Linked DNA regions of Homo sapiens: region 1 is linked to region 2. Evidence: promoter capture Hi-C in human tissues and cell types (Jung and others, 2019). All regions are on one chromosome and are shown on one strand. Each heading gives the region's core, a stretch centred on a gene start or on the middle of the fragment in contact. The rest is flanking DNA. Distances are from core to core; before and after follow the strand shown. Region 1 overlaps TMEM242 (transmembrane protein 242). Region 2 holds the start of SYNJ2 (synaptojanin 2).

Region 1 (7,637 bases), core at 1,647-4,146, 680 kb before region 2:
TCTTGATTTAATGCGCTAACAGGTCAGGTTCTCAGGAGCGATTCTAAAATGATTTTTACTCAGTCAGGCTTTATTTTTAGTAACTGCAAAATTTAGGGAAGTTTCCTTTCCCGGCCAAACAAACAACAGTAACTATACCACCTCTGACTGTCAAGCCTCTTTCTAAAAGCTTTCTGAATTACTGCGTTAAACATTTTATAACAGCTACCATCAGATCACTATTTTCATATCTTAACCAAATGATCCTGCTTCACTGGTGTGCGCACATACACAAGTGTGTGCATGTACACACATGCCCAACATGCAGCTGCAGTCCCCACTTCATGTCTTTTTAACGACCCAGCTGAAAGGCCGTCCCAGAGGAAATGAAGGCGGTTTCAAGATGGGTCCATTATAAAAAATACCTGTACGTATATACTTTTATTTTTACATTGTAGAGGAAGTTACCACTTTTTTACAGCATATAAATGAACATAGGTATAAGCCAGCAAGAAGAAAGCATGTATCTAATGAAAATAATCAGAATATCTAGAACACAATAAATACTTACATCCTACTTTTTGGGAACCAAATGCCAACTACATATATAACAAGGCAAGTGCTGCTACATCAGGGGTACCAAAAACACTTTCTTTAGGAATTGTAAATAAGTATCACCCAGCACCTGGATGCTAAATAAAAGAGCTGGAGGACTAAATAAATAGGTAAGTCATTTTATCCACTTTCCTGTTTCCATATTTTAGGAATTTAAGTTTATTCAAAATTTTGATATATAACCCTATATCTATGATCTCTTCAATAATTTCAGAATGGTAGTTTTAGACAACTTTAAAGCTTCAGTTCCTTCTGAATTTCTCAAAGTGTTTTTGCACTCTCTTTCAGGGGGGCCTCCTCTTCAGGGGTCAGCTTTCCCAGGACACAAGGAATATTGAGGAATACTTCTTCATCTATTCCACAGAGACCCCTAATGATGGTGGAAACTGGATGTGTTCTCCTAAGATTCTTCAAAATACTTTCTGTTAAATCAGCTACAGATAGGCCAATGGCCCATGAAGTATAACCTTTCATTTTAATAATCTCATAGGCACTAGCAATCACTTGTGGACATTTTTCCATTGTTCAGGATCTTTATCAGTTCCTGTATCAGAGTTCAGATTCTTCAAAGCGACACCAGCTATGTTCACTCCACTCCATACAGGAACACTTGAGTCTCCATGCTCTCCTAGGATCCATCCGTGGCAGTTTTCAGAGTGGATACCAAGCTTTTGTCCAAACAAGAAACAAAAACGAGCAGTATCCAGATTACAGCCGCTTCCAATAACACGGTTTTTGGAAAATGCACTCAACTTCCAGGCTACATAAGTTAAGTTATCCACTGGATTGGAAACAATAATCAGCTTGCAGAGGGGGCTGTACTGGACAATACCGGAAATCATTAACTTGAAGATGGCCACATTTCGCTGGACTAAATTAAGGCGCGTTTCTCCCTTTTCTTGACGTGCACCTTCTGTGATAATCACTAGGCTGGAGTTTGCTGTGACAAGGTAATCTTTGCTACAAACAATATTTGGCGTTTTCATGAAAGGGCTGCCATGTTGAAGATCCATTGTCTCACCCTTCAGTTTGCCTTCATCAAGATCCACAAGGGCAAGTTCATCACTCAAGCCTTTTAATAAGATGCTGGTAGCGCAGGCCATGCCCACCGATCCAGTTCCTATGATGGAGACCTTACTGTGATGAGCGGGCTCCTCGGAAGTGAAGCGCTCAACAAGCTCACTCTTCACGGGGGTGAAGAGCCAGGCGCCCTTGAGCGGCATGCGCGCTGCCTGACTGGGACACAGGGACAGGAAATTCGCTCCTGCCGAGCTCACTCTCCGGCTGGCCTGCACAACAGACACAGTCCAACTCATGGCTGCTCACTCAAGAAATGGAGGGAGAGAATGGAAGAAAACTGCTGACCAGGACGTCGCAACGCCAAGAGAGCCATTAGCAGCACCTTCAGCCCTCTGTGGCGAGTGCGCAAGACACGCCCCCTGGCCCTCTACTGCGGCTGCGCGGGCCTTGCCAGCGCCTTCAACATGTACTTTCCGTTGGTGCTGAGACTAAGGCAGTGAAGGGCTGCTTCTCGAGCAAGTGATTTCTGGAGTTAGTTTTACAAAGAGTATTCTCATCGATAGTTGACATGCTTAAGAGGTTAACCCAGATCCCCGGAATTACTAGTTTTCTATTTTTAGTATGAATGCCAAGGAAAAATGCTTCTATTAACTACGGATGAAAATCAGGTTACATCTTCTGAACGGTGACCCTGCCGGGAAGGATAGGGCGCTGTGCTTTGCATACGGGTGGTTGCCTGCACCATCTCCCAGTGTCCCAGAAGTGGGCTCCTGCTATCTGGTGTATGGCGCCGGAGGCCTATTTATAAAGGATCCCACTGCCTTGGTGCCAGTTCTGGCCAGGACCCACACTGGGACAGTCAGCAGGAGCTTGAGCAGGGTAGGGGCCCGCTGGGAGTCATCCCATCACTAAAAATTCACCAGGCGAGAATGCTATTCCTTTCTCATGCTAGAGGAAAGCCTTTGATTGTGCGTCCCGAAGAAAAACGACTTCTCAGGTAGAAAGCTGGCAATGCAGTCCTCAATTAAAATGAGGATATCTCTTAAAAGTCCTTAAAATGGCAAGTTTCAACCAATGCATAAATCAGATTATTGACCAAAGTAGTGAAATAAATGATCTAGTACAACGTGGCATCAGTATGCCTTATTTCTTCAGCATTTCTCTGGGCAATCTTAAGAACTAAATTCCCTTACAGTTTCTGAGGAGGTGTCAACTTCACATCTGATGAAATGCATACCCTAATAAGCCCAGTAAACTACAAAAGCTCCAAAAAAAATGATGGCACTTTCTCCTCACTTATAAACAGCATTCTGCCCGTGTAATGGTTCCTCAAAAGCTCTCCCTCTTGTTTTATTTAAAAGCAGTGTGCTCTTCTGGAATGGGGCCCCTTGGTACATGTAGCTCCTCATGATCAGCAAAAAAAAGATTTCCGCTTTAGAATATTGAATGCTGACAAAATGAATACTTTATATTTGGACTTGAAAAGCTATTACTTTTTTTTTTTTGAGACAGAGTCTTGCTCTGTTGCCCAGGTGCAATGGCATGGTCTCAGCTCACTGCAACCTCTGCCTCCCAGGTTCAAGCCATTCTCCTGTCTCAGCCTCCCGAGTAGCTGGGATTACAGGCACCTGCCACCACACCTGGCTAATTTTTGTATTTTTAGTAGAGACAGGGTTTCACCATATTGGTCAGGCTGGTCTCTAACTCCTGATCTCAGGTGATCTGCCTGTCTCGGCCTCCCAAAGTGTTGGGATTACAGGCATAAGCCAACGCGCCTGGCCGAAAAGCTATTCTTATTTGTGCCATTGAAAGGCAGTCCAGGGCTGGACGCAGTGGCTCACACCTGTAATCCCAGCACTTTGGAGGCTGAGTTTGTGGATCACTTGAGGTCAGAAGTTCGAGACCAGCCTGGCCAACACAGTGAAACCCCATTTCTACTAAAAATACAAAAATTAGCCGGGTGTGGTGGTGTGTGCCTATGGTCCCAGCTACTCAGGAGGCAGAGGCATGAGAATTGCTTGAACCCTGGAGGCGGAGGTTGCAGTGAGCCAAGTTCATGACACTGCACTCCAGCCTGGGCGATAGAGCAAGACTCCGTCTCAACAAAAGAAGAAAAAAGGCAGTCCAGGAGGAGAGGAACAATAAGCAAAGGAGTTGGTGAGGGTGGGAAAGGTGTGCCATCAGCTGAGTTCCTGACATCCTGTTTCAGGGTGACCTCCTGGCCATGTTTTCCCTATCAGTAAGGATCAGATACCCCGTTCAGATGACAGAGCCACAAACCAAATGGTAAGGGGACTAGGTACATGAATCCTCTTAGCACTGGTGGTCAGATTTTTGGTTAACATTTGTCAAATTAAAAACTGCAGTTTTAAAAGGGTCATCTTTATTTAATGGTGGCCAATGTTTTAGAGGAATCCTTTAAAAGCAACAATTTTTGATAGCTGTCATTTCTTTTATCTCAGTCATAACTTGAAATGTTTTAACCTGGTGACTGTTCCCACCATCCACCTATAATGATTCCTTTCACCAGTCAAGTCATTTTCCAAGATAAGTGTTGTTGAACATGAAATTCAAGGACATAAAGACTCTTCGCGGGATGGCTACTTTCTATAGTCATTTTCTTTCTATCGTTTGAACCTCTTCAGAAATACAATCTCTCTAATAGCTGCCTCTTCAGTTTTTCCCCTTAGCCACAACTAAATCAATCTTGAGGGGGAAAAAAAACTGTTCAAAATAAAAACATACCAAACAAAGCAGCTTTTTTATTTACAATAAGTCTTGAGATAAAAAAGGAAAGCACTAACAAAGACGAAGAGATGTATGTGACCTCCAGAGCATATTTAGGTCTACTCAAAGATGTGGAAAGCCAAGTATAGCTAGACAGCTCCCTAGTGACTTCCTATCCTAGGTGGCTCATTATTCCTTCTGAATTGAAAACCTGACTCAAATTATCTATTCAAAACGCAGTACAGTATTATAGCTAATGGCAGGATTACACCTCAGTACTTTCGGTTGTACCACTTAGGAGGGAGGAAGCAGGAAATGAAAACAACCAGCAAGTCCCTGGGCCAAGAATGGCTGCCACTAAGTCACTATTCCTTTCACCTGGACTCACACCCAGCTCTCAAATCCTCCTTTTCCTCTCCGGGAGTCCAGTTCTGATATTCCATTCTCTCACCAATCTTTGCCAATCCCCTAAGCAGAACTGGCTTTCTAAAAGCCTATGTCACCACTGTACTTTGTACCTCTCTCCATTAGAGGATTTATCACACACAGTTAAATGTAAAATACTTACGAATGTGCCACTGCAAGAAGGATCACCTTTTATTTACCAGCATATCCCTGTCCTCTAGAACAGAGCTGGGCCCACGAATAGGGATTTGGTAAATGTAGTAGAAAAGAATGAGGAACTGTAGAGCTGAGTGAGTAAGGCTGGGGAGTGGGCTAAAAGGTGAGAGAGACAGAAAGGCGGGGCCACAGACCCCATCTAGAGAGAGTTCTGAAAATGAGGGTAAGTAAAATGGGTAGGTGGCACCCACTGGGGCATCTTTAGAAAGTTGATGCATATATTTCAAGTAAAGCTTTGGATAAGCTAAAAGATTTTGTGGCTATTTTCAAAGCCAATACCCACTTTTACCAAGTTAAAACATTAAAAAACAAAACAAAAACAAAAATCTATTACAGTGTTAGAAATGCAGTAAAACAAATATGCAGTGGCAGAGAAACTATTTTTATCCTTTAAAGTTATTTAAAATGTTCTGTTCTTTGGAAAGCTTTAAAAAAATAATCAGCACACAGAACCCTTGGTTTAGGGGAAAGGGATAAAATGAAAGCAGTGTTAATTATTACAAGCTGATCTGAAATAGGCCATAAACTCACCAGCATGAACACAATTATTTTGAAAGTCTTCTTTGTGATTTGAAAAATCATAGAATGCAAATTGTAGTTTTAAAATAAATTAGTGGGCTCTAATTCTATTGCTCAGTAATTCTCATGGTGGCGGGGGGAGGGGGGGGTCTCTGCAAATCCCAGCACATGAAAATATTTTACTTTGTCAGCAACACTGGGAAAACTGGAGGAAAGACAAATAGAGGGCCACAAAGAATAGAATAAAGGCAAAAAGTCAATTCAAAGAGCAATGCTGGGATCAACTTCCTGTTTACGGTATTTAAATATGAAATGAATTGGCAAGCTCTTCTAATAAATAACCCCAATCACATTTTTGTTCTTTGAAAGCAGCATCTTATACATAATTTCTGATGCAATATAAAAGAGCCACTTGTGTTAATCATTAAAAAGGAAAACTTATAATGTGGCATAAAACATGGAAAGCAAAGAAATTAAAATTCATTAGCCTGGGCGCAGTGACTCGCACCTGTGATCCAAGCACTTCAGGAGGCCGAGGCAGGTGGATCACTTGAGGTCAGGCATTCCACACCAGCCTGGTCAACATGGTGAAAGCCCGTCTCTACAAAAAATACAAAAATCAGTCGGGCATGGTGGTGCATGCCTGTAGTCCAGCTACTTGGGAGGCTGAGGCAGGAAAATTGCTTGAACCCAAGAGGCAGAGGTTTCAGTGAGCCAAGATTGTGCCACTGAACTCCAGCCTGGGTGACAGAGTGAGACTCTGTCAAAAAAAAAAAAAAAAAAAAAAAAAAAAAGAGAGAGAGAGAGAGTGCCACTGAAATGAAATGGTAGAAGTGATGTGATCAGATTGCATTCAATAAATACTTACTAAACACCTACAATGCATTAGGCAGTGTTACAGGTGCGAGGATATAACAATGACCAAGATAAAGGAGGTCTCTACCCTCAGAATCTACATTCTTTTTGTGAAGACTGATAAAACAAGACAATGGTCAATATCATCTCGTTTTGCAATAGGCGTTACAAAGAAAAGAAAATAGGATAATTTCAGAGAGTAACTGGGTGGTGGGAATGAAGACATCTGGAGAAGCTGCTCTGAGGAGGTAAATTAAGTTTGAGTTGAAACCCTGGATAGCAGCAAACAGCCAGCGATGCAAGGACCTGGGGAAGGAGTTTCCTGGGCAAAGCTAGAGTAAAGGCCCTAGGCAGGAACAGCCCTGTGTGTTGAAGGAATAAGAATGCTGGCAGGGCTGGAGTGCAGTGGGAAGAGGTGAGGTGGGCAATTGTGGTGGCTCAAGATGAGGTCAGTGAGGTTGGTGGGGCTACATCATGTAAACCTTCTTCAACAGGAAGCCACTGAAGGGTTTTAAATAAGGAAGTAGCATGATCTGACTCACATTTTTAAAATATCTCTGGCTGCTGTGTGGAGAAAAAATTCTAGAAGGAATAAGGAAGAGGCCGGGAAACTGGACAGGAAACTCTTAAAACACTAGGCAACAGAGGAATGGATGTGGAGAGATGAAGGAGGCAGGCGGTGTTCAGCGGCAGAGCTGACAAGCAGGACTTGCATGCATCAGATGAAGGGAACCAAGGGAAATGAGAGAATCTAAGAGGATTCTCACTGGGGTTTTTGGTTTGAAGTGGAAGGATGAGATGACGGTGGCATTTACGGAATGGGGAAGACCAAGGGAGGAGCAAGTTGGGAATAAAGTGAGGAAATCAAGTGCTCTAGTTGGGACATGGGTCATGTGACACGCCTATGAGGGCGTGTCATATTGTGAGGGCACACAATATGAAGCAGAGACGCCGATCTGAAGGTCAGGGCTGGGGCTATGTATCTGGACGGCATCAGATAGTACTGTTTGTTTTAAAGTGGCAGGGACTGGACGAAAGAGCCAAGGGGCGGAGGATAGATGGAGGACAGAAGAGTTTAAGTAGGAGCTACTGGACACTGATGTTAAGAGGCTGGCCAGGGGAGGGGTTGGCACAAGAGACAGGCAAAATGTCCAGTGAGGTGGAAGGTAGCTCAGAAGCCACAGTGTTTCAGGATGGAGGGGGGGCTCCATTGTGCCCAAATGTTGCTGGGAGGGCAAGTAACAGAGGATAAAGTAAGATCTGGCAACAAGGAGGGCACTGGCAACCTTAATAGCAGTTCC
Region 2 (7,745 bases), core at 2,021-4,520:
ATCTGAGTGTTTGAAAGAGTGCGGCACCTCCCCCCAGCTCTCCTGCTCTAATCTCACCACGTGACATGCTGGTTCCTGGTTGCCTTCCACCATGACTGTAAGCCTCCTGAGGCCTCCCCAGAAGCAGACGCCAGCACCATGCTTCCTGTACAGCCTGTGGAAGCGTGAGCCAATGACATCTATTTTCTTTATAAATACCCAGTCTCAGGTATTCCTTTATAGTAACACAAATAGACTAATAATACAGGCTTCCGCAATAAAATACCACAGGCCAGTGGCTTAAACAATAGAAATTTATTTCTCAGTTCTAGAAGCTAGAAATTCTGAGATCAAGGTGCCAGCTGATGTGGCTCTTGCTGAGGGCCGTCTTCCTGGCCGGCAGATGCTCAGGCCCTTCCCTCTGTGTCTCTTCTTTTTTTTTTTTTTTGTTTTTCCTTCTTTGAGACAGAGTCGTGCTCTATTGCCCAGGCTGGAGTACAGTGGCTCCATCTCTGCTCACTGCAACCTCTGCCTCCCGGGTTCAAGTGATTCTCCTGCCTCAGTCTCCCGAGTAGCTGGGATTACAGGCACACACCACCACATCCAGTGAATTTTTTTGTATTTTTAGTAGAGATGGGGTTTTGCCATGTTGGCCAGGGTGGTCTCAAACTCCTGATCTCAAGTGATTCACCCACCTTGGCTTCCCAAAGTGCTGGGATTACAGGCATGAGCCACCGCGCCTGGCCTGTCTCTTCTTCTAAGGACACTAATCCTATCATTCTTATTGAGAGGGCCCCACTGGCATGACGTCATCTGACCCTAACGAGCTCCTAAAGGTTCCATCTCTAAAAACCATTCCACTGGGGGTCAGGGCTTCAACATATGGATTTGGTAGGGCAACAGGGGGTGGGGATAGGGTGGCTCAAACGTTCAGTGCATGTCTCCCCTACTTCCCCTCTTTGTTTCCTCTGATAACCTGTTGGGGTTCCTGACTCCCTCACCCACACCACGCTGAGCTACATTTCCTGCTGTGGCTTACTCTGGGGCTGGTGGAGTTGGCTTTTGCTTCCTTCCCCATCTCCTCCCCTTCCCAATTCCCTACCCTCCAGGCATTATACATCTCAGAGAGGGGAAGCGCCCAACTCTCCTGCCGCAGATGGGCCCACCCCTTTGCCCAAACGCCGCTGGGGGTTTAGGTGTCTGAGCCAACCTTTTCCTTGAAGGCCTCAAGGTCAGTTGCTCCATCTGCGAAAGGTGCCTGTGCCTGGGTACCCTTGGTCTATCAAGCCAGTGCGCATGTGAGGAAGCTGCTCCCTCTGCCACCCAGGTGGGCTGTCCCACCTGAAACCAGACAGCAGAGGCCCCAAAACCCAGCAGGCTCTTGGCTCACCCAGCCATTTCTCAGAGACGGAGGAACAGCCACTGTAGTTCCTTGAGTCTGAGACGTGCATTTTAACATTGTCTAAATCAGGGCAGAGATGACTATTGGTGGCATGTTCTAGTTTAATTGGAAGTTTTTTTTTTTTTCTCAGTGGTACATAAAATAGTGGTTCATTTTACAGTTGATGGTGACTTGGATTCTATAAGCTGTGAGGCTCAACTGCTGGTCCTGACTGCAGGAAAATTTCTAAAATAGGTATGGCATGCCACTGTGCAGGACTTTAGACTATATGATGCTAGTTAGGAAAGAGGAGAGAGAGATAAATGGAAGACTGGGTCCCCTCCCTAAGGCCTTACCACTCAATTTGCAAAACAGGGCTAAGAGAAAACATAAAAACACTTCTCAAGCAACATATGAGTAGGTGAGAACTGAAGTCTGTAAATCTGGGTGTTATATAAGCACTATTATCTGGGACCTCAGCATTCCAGGAAAGCTTCCTGGAAGAAGTGAGTTTCAGGTCAAAAAGTGGGCCAAAGGCTGATCTGCCTCACTGAATGGGCACACTGTTTTCATGAGGTAGTAATGTTTCCATCTACACAGAAAGAAGCTGCTCGGACAGCTGATGAGCATCATGCCTGGGATATTGAGCACATCATGCTTGACCTGGGCAGAGTTTGTGGGCAAGGAAAGGGGCTAAGGGTCAAGATAATCTCTGCTGGGGTTGTTCAAATTTATTACCCAACCATCACCTGAGAGGTTGTCCCCTGAGGATGGCTTGTCTGGTCATTACTGAATGTCTGCAGGGGCATGGCAGTGTTCTGCTTGGCTCTGGGGGCTCTGCCCTTTCTAGGACAAGTCCCAGAGACAAACAGCTTGGCCCAGTACAGCAGAATGGGGTGAGAGAGGAACTGAGTTCGTTTGCGGGCAGGATGGAAACAGCTGATGGAGGCTTCTCGGGCCATCCTCACGTACCCATCACAAGCGAAGGGAATTAAGCCGCCAAACCACCCCAAAGAGTGACTCCAACTCAGCCCTAAACACCCATACCCACCCCACCTCCCCTGCAGCTCTGACAGGCCAAGCCTGGGCGCTAGAACCCCGCGCCAGAAGGCCGGGCCACACACTCCAGCGTACACGCGCGGACACGTGCCGGTGTCCAGAGCCGGTGGGAGAGGCGCTGTCACCATCTGACAGGAGAGGAAGGTGGAGCGCAGAGAAGTCAGGGTCACGTGGTAAGTGGGGGTCGTGGTCTGGGGATCACGGCTCCAGGTCTCTTCGCGACAACGCACCGTTGACCCCCAACACCTCTCCCTGGCGGGGTCGGTGACCGCAACAGCCTCCGGGATAGAACGCTAGTGAAAGGTAACCTTTCTCCAGCCCGCTCCACGCGCTCCGCACCCGCTAAGCGCCTCCGCGAATTAACTCAGGCCTCCGCGCCGAAGTAGGCGCAGTTATGACCCCGCTTCCCCGCAGGGAGACCGAGGCACGCAGGGTCGAAAGGACTCGTCCAGGGTCGCAGGAGCCGACCACACAGGGAGGCGCAGCGCCCCCGGCGGGAACAGTCAGCGGGTCCAGCCTGGCGGACTCCCGGGCCGGGCTGCCCATATAAGGCTGCGGGCGGCCGGCATCGCAGCCAGGCTCCCGGGGTCGCCCCGCGCGGGGCATCCTCCTCCGCAGCGAGGAATGCGTGGCATCCGGGAGGCTCTTCCGCTCCACGCCCGCCTGCGGGGAGCCTCAGCCCCGGGGCGCGGCCTCGCGCAGCTGCCTGGCCGCTGGGGGGAGCGCGGGGCCGGGCGGGAGGCGGCGGCGCGCCCTCACCTGCCCCAGGCTGGGGAGGCGCGAGTGGGGAGGAGGAGGAAGGGGAGGAGGCCGGGGAGGAGCCTGGCGCGGCGGGAGCGGCGGCGCAAAGTGAAACTCTGGCAAGTTGCGGGCGCGCGGGGAGCTGTCGCGGGCAGCGCGCCCTCGGGAGGACGTGGCCCCGGCCCCCGCCCGCAGTGGGCCCGACCCTCATGGCCCTGAGCAAAGGGCTGCGGCTGCTGGGGCGCCTGGGGGCCGAGGGGGACTGTAGCGTGCTGCTGGAGGCGCGCGGCCGCGACGACTGCCTGCTGTTCGAGGCCGGCACGGTGGCCACGCTGGGTGAGTCCGGGCCGGGGGCAGCGACGCCCGGAGGAGAGGGCGCCCGCATTCGCCCAGCCTCGGGAAGACGGGTACCCCCCCTTCCCGAGGGGATCGGGCGGCGCTGGGACTGCCGGGGCGTAGGGGTCGCGCGCAGAGGGGTGGCTGTTTGAATGAAGTGGGGCTGGGGACTCGAGAGAGCACTCTGGCTGGGCCGGTGGCGCACGGAGGCCGGCCGCCCCTCCACGGGGATCTCCGGCCCGCGCCGCCAGAGGATATGGTTGCTGGATAGCCGGCTGGGGCGCTTTGCGTATTCATGAGGATCCCGGGGTGTTGACTTAGCCGGCCTGACCCTGTGCCTGGCGCCTTTTCTTTTGCACCTGTTGATGAAACCAGTGATTGCCCTTTGGTTTGTGTTGGCGGCTCCACTCCTGGAGGGGATGGGGACAAAAGCCCCAAAACATAGGCTCTGGAGAAACCGCTGATGGCAGCTTTGTCCCACGTAAATACTTGGTCGAGAAGCATCGGTGCTGCAATTTATAGAACTTGTAAACAAATATACCATGACCTTTATGCTGTCTTAGATCCTGCCAAGCCAGCGAATTTCACCTATGGACTTCAGAAGCCTTGAAACTGGCATTGTGCTATGGGCTTTAGTACGTGATCTCACTTAATTCTCACAATTCTACTAAAAAGCTATTATTATCCCCATTTTGCAGATGAGCAAACTGAGGCCTAAAGAGGCTAAGTTGCTTGCCAAGGTGACACCATCCACCTGACTTTTATGTGGCTGTTTCTGTAATGTCATTCAATGCGTGGCTTCCTGGTATCGCTAACCTGGGTCCCTTGTTTTGTGCTAACCATTATAAGGAAAACCTGGGTAGCACCAAAGCACGTGAAACCAGGTCTGATTGTTAGACTTCTAAATGTGGACACCCGAGAGTAAGCTCCCACCACTAGGCGTCCAGCTGTAACAGCTTGCCGGTATTCCTAGCTAAACAAGGTGCAGCCCGGGGTCACTCGTACTTGAGGTGGTCGGCAAATGCAGCAGGCTGCTTTGTAGATGCCTCTAGCCTTCTTTTCACATTTGTATGCATCGACTCCCGTTCGGATGTATGTCTTGGAAGGACTATCTCTCCTATTTCTGATTCCCTAATCATTTCATTAACATGCATTTATCCAGCTTGTTCTCAGTCACTTGATTACTGAAACAATGTCTCCAGTAGTCTCAGCATCAAAAGTAGGCAGTGAATTGTAGATTAAGTTATTTTCAGATTATTCTAATTTGTGCTGTCCTGAAGAGTCTAAGTTTGGTTATTTGGTGTGGCCTTGAAAGAAAACCACAGAAATTTCCATTCCATTTTAGATGTCTACTTCATACCACATTTATCGGAAGCGAAAGAGTAATTTCATGGTACAAAACTACTGTTTCATCAAATAGATTAAGATGTCCTTCAGTTGGATTACGGCAACATTAAGCCAAGTTCATACACATTCAAGAATTCTTTGAAGCAGCTTAGAAAAAAGAGATTTTATTTTTTCAAAAGTGAAGATTTAAAAATGATTAATGACAGTAATGTAGTGCATATTTTCCATTAGGAGCTGAAGTTTGGGCTGAGATTTACATCACGGTGGTGATTACAGTATACCAGATTTTAGAACAGAGAATGTAAGAAAGGAATTGGCTCGTCTTCAACTCATGTGCAGTCCACATTTGTCATTTAACCTAGCATTCATTTTTCAGTAGAAAACTTTAAAAAAAAATTTTTTTTTTTTTTGAAACAGAGGCTTCTTCTGTTGCCTAGGCTGGCATGCAGTGGCACAGTCACAGCCCACTGCAGCCTCAACTTCCCAGGCTCAAGCGATCCTCCTGCCTCAGCCTCCTGAGTAGCTGGGACTATAGGCACATGCCACCATGCCTGGCTAATTTTTTCTCTTTCTTTTCTTTTCTTTAAATGGGGTCTTACTATGTTGCCCATGCTGTTCTCGAACTCCTGGGCTCAGGTGATCTTTCCGCCTTGGTCTCCCAAAGCGTTGGGATTACAGGCATGAACTACTTACTGCGTCTGGCCTGAAAACTTAATTTTTTAAAGTCTGTTTTGTTTAAGTAAAATGAAACTATTTTTAAAAAGCAGCTGTAGCATTTGGTGGCTTTGCTGGTCCAGAGAATGTTTGTAGGAGAGAGCCTTATGTTACTAGAAAGTTGTTTAAAACTTTCAACATATCCTAAATGCATCACTATTGGATAAAATGGCTCTGAACTTGAAATTCCCATCTGTGTTCCAAAGGGCTAGCTAGCTGTTTTACTTTCCTTTCTTGGAGAAAGTGATTATTTTTTTTCTTTTTTTTGAGATGGAGCTTCACTCTTGTTGCCTGGGCTGAGTGAAGTGGTGCGATCTCGGCTGACTGCAACACCGCCACCCCCACCTGGGTTCAAGTGATTCTCCTGCCTCAGCCTCCCCAGTAGCTAGGATTACAGGCACACGCCACCATGCCTGGCTAATTTTTGTATTTTTAGTAGAGACGGGGTTGTGCCATTTTGGCCAGGCTGGTTTCTAACTCCTGACCTTAGGTGATCCACCTGCTTTGGCCTCCCAAAGTGCTAGGATTACAGGCGTGAGCCACCATGCCTGACCCGAGAAGGTGAATTTTTACAAGAAGGCTGCAATCTCTACTTTTGTATGGGACAGGACACTTGTGGCAGCTGGCGTAGCTGGTGGTCTAATCTTGACCTTTCACCCTTTCCTTGAAGTTCCGAGTCGGGGGTAGCTTCCTTTTCTCTTCAGCTGTGGTTTTCCTGTGATGGGTCCCTCCCAGTTAGTAATGAGAGGCTGAGAGACAAGTTGTGGTAACTGCTTCGTGGGTAGTGGTCTTTCCCGGCCCCTGAGTCATTCTAACTTCCATCCTGCTCCGCTGCGGATGCACATAGCTGCTTTCCTAGGGGCGAGAGGAGATGAGGGGACTGGGCCTGATGACCACAGGCGCTGCCCCTTCATAGCACATTTTATTCCTGAAGGATCCTAACTGGAAAAGTACCTCTCGCCGAAGGGGCTGGGTGGTTCCTTATCATTTTCAGGCAAGGCCTGGAGACAGGGGCTTGAACTGGGCTGTGATTTTTAGGAAAAACGGATGGTCCATGATTCGTTGATTGCTGGACTCCTTCCATCTGAACCTGTCTTCACCTGTCTTCACCTGTCCTGCTCTAAAGTGAACTCTTCACACTAGGGCCGTCTGGCCTGCTAGCAGGATTGTTGAAGGAATTATTCCAAATTCCTGCTTCTAAAAGAATTAGGTTGTGAATCTGAATCTGTCTTTTATGTAGATCAGTGGGAGCAAAAATTCCAGAGGCAGAAAAGCCAAATGTATTGGCACTGATTTAAAAGGCTTTTATGAAGTCTCGGGAACCTGACTGGAGGGTAGTTGGCCTTCTCAGCACAGGTGGGAAGCCCCGTAGCCGGTACCAGCATCCCTGGCCAACAATCCACAATTAGCAAACAGATGTTCCCTTATTTGCACATGGGACAAAAACCTACTCCTGTCTCTGTCTCTTGTAAACTTAGGGAAAAGTGCTTATTGTTAATGGATTTTGTGTATTTTCAGAGTAAGCGACAGTGTTCCAAAGTTCAAGGTTCTCCAACAGCCCCCAGGAACGGTGGCCTGAGGGTGTCCCTGTGTTTACAGTGCGGGCTGTGTGTGAGTGAAGTCGTGCCTCCTGCCGCCCAGCCGGGCTTTGCTGTGAACAGGCAGCAGGGAGGGAGGGATGGGGCAGGAGACTTGAGAGAATTAATTAAGTTAATTAATGGGTGTCCCTAAATTACTTTGAGCTTCTGGGGGGAAAGGTTCTGTGTAAACACCAGGCCCCCAGGTTCTCCCAGCTGCTGTTGTGCGAGGCCACGTCTCGAGTTTAGCTTTGTTTGAATTGGTGAGATGGCCCCAGGGCAGAGCAGGACTCAGTCTGAACTGTTGCCTAGATCACTTTCTCAGGCATTATGGCCAGATTTATTTGGTCACGGACTGGAATTTTGATCTGCTAGAGAGGACCACAGAGAATCAAATAAGTCACCATTTTATAAATGCTCCTGGACAAAGTTGAAACCACAGGTAGGACCAGGCAAGGGTTCCGGGGCCCCTGACGTGGGAAACTAGAGCAGCGACCCGGGACCACAGTGGTCTGTCTGCCTCCAGGACTGGTTTGCCTCCTCTCCTAGCCGGAGGCTGTCTCAGCGTAGTGTTTACAAAATGCAAACTGGGATGGTGTGTGCTTCTCCCG

What was found. Contacts are between HindIII fragments. The study calls those that stand out against the background at their distance.
Region 1: a contact is called between a fragment that was not itself captured here and the fragment with the promoter of SYNJ2 in region 2, in 1 of the 25 tissues and cell types used here (spleen).

The regions. Positions count from the first base shown.
Region 1 is chr6:157,298,217-157,305,853 of GRCh38, forward strand. All of the region lies in intron 3 of TMEM242 (transmembrane protein 242), which reads right to left. It also overlaps the pseudogene LDHAL6FP. Among named protein-coding and RNA genes, the nearest start is that of TMEM242, 21 kb to the right of the region's middle. The HindIII fragment of the contact is 4,790 bases long and covers 502-5,291 here.
Region 2 is chr6:157,978,593-157,986,337 of GRCh38, forward strand. It overlaps SYNJ2 (synaptojanin 2), which reads left to right and starts at 3,271. Exons shown (of 27, transcript NM_003898.4): 1 at 3,271-3,496. The coding sequence starts at 3,370. RefSeq lists enhancers at 2,507-2,556, 2,521-3,036, 2,577-2,766, 2,787-2,836, 3,037-3,552 and a silencer at 2,957-3,536. The HindIII fragment of the contact is 15,452 bases long and covers 1-7,745 here.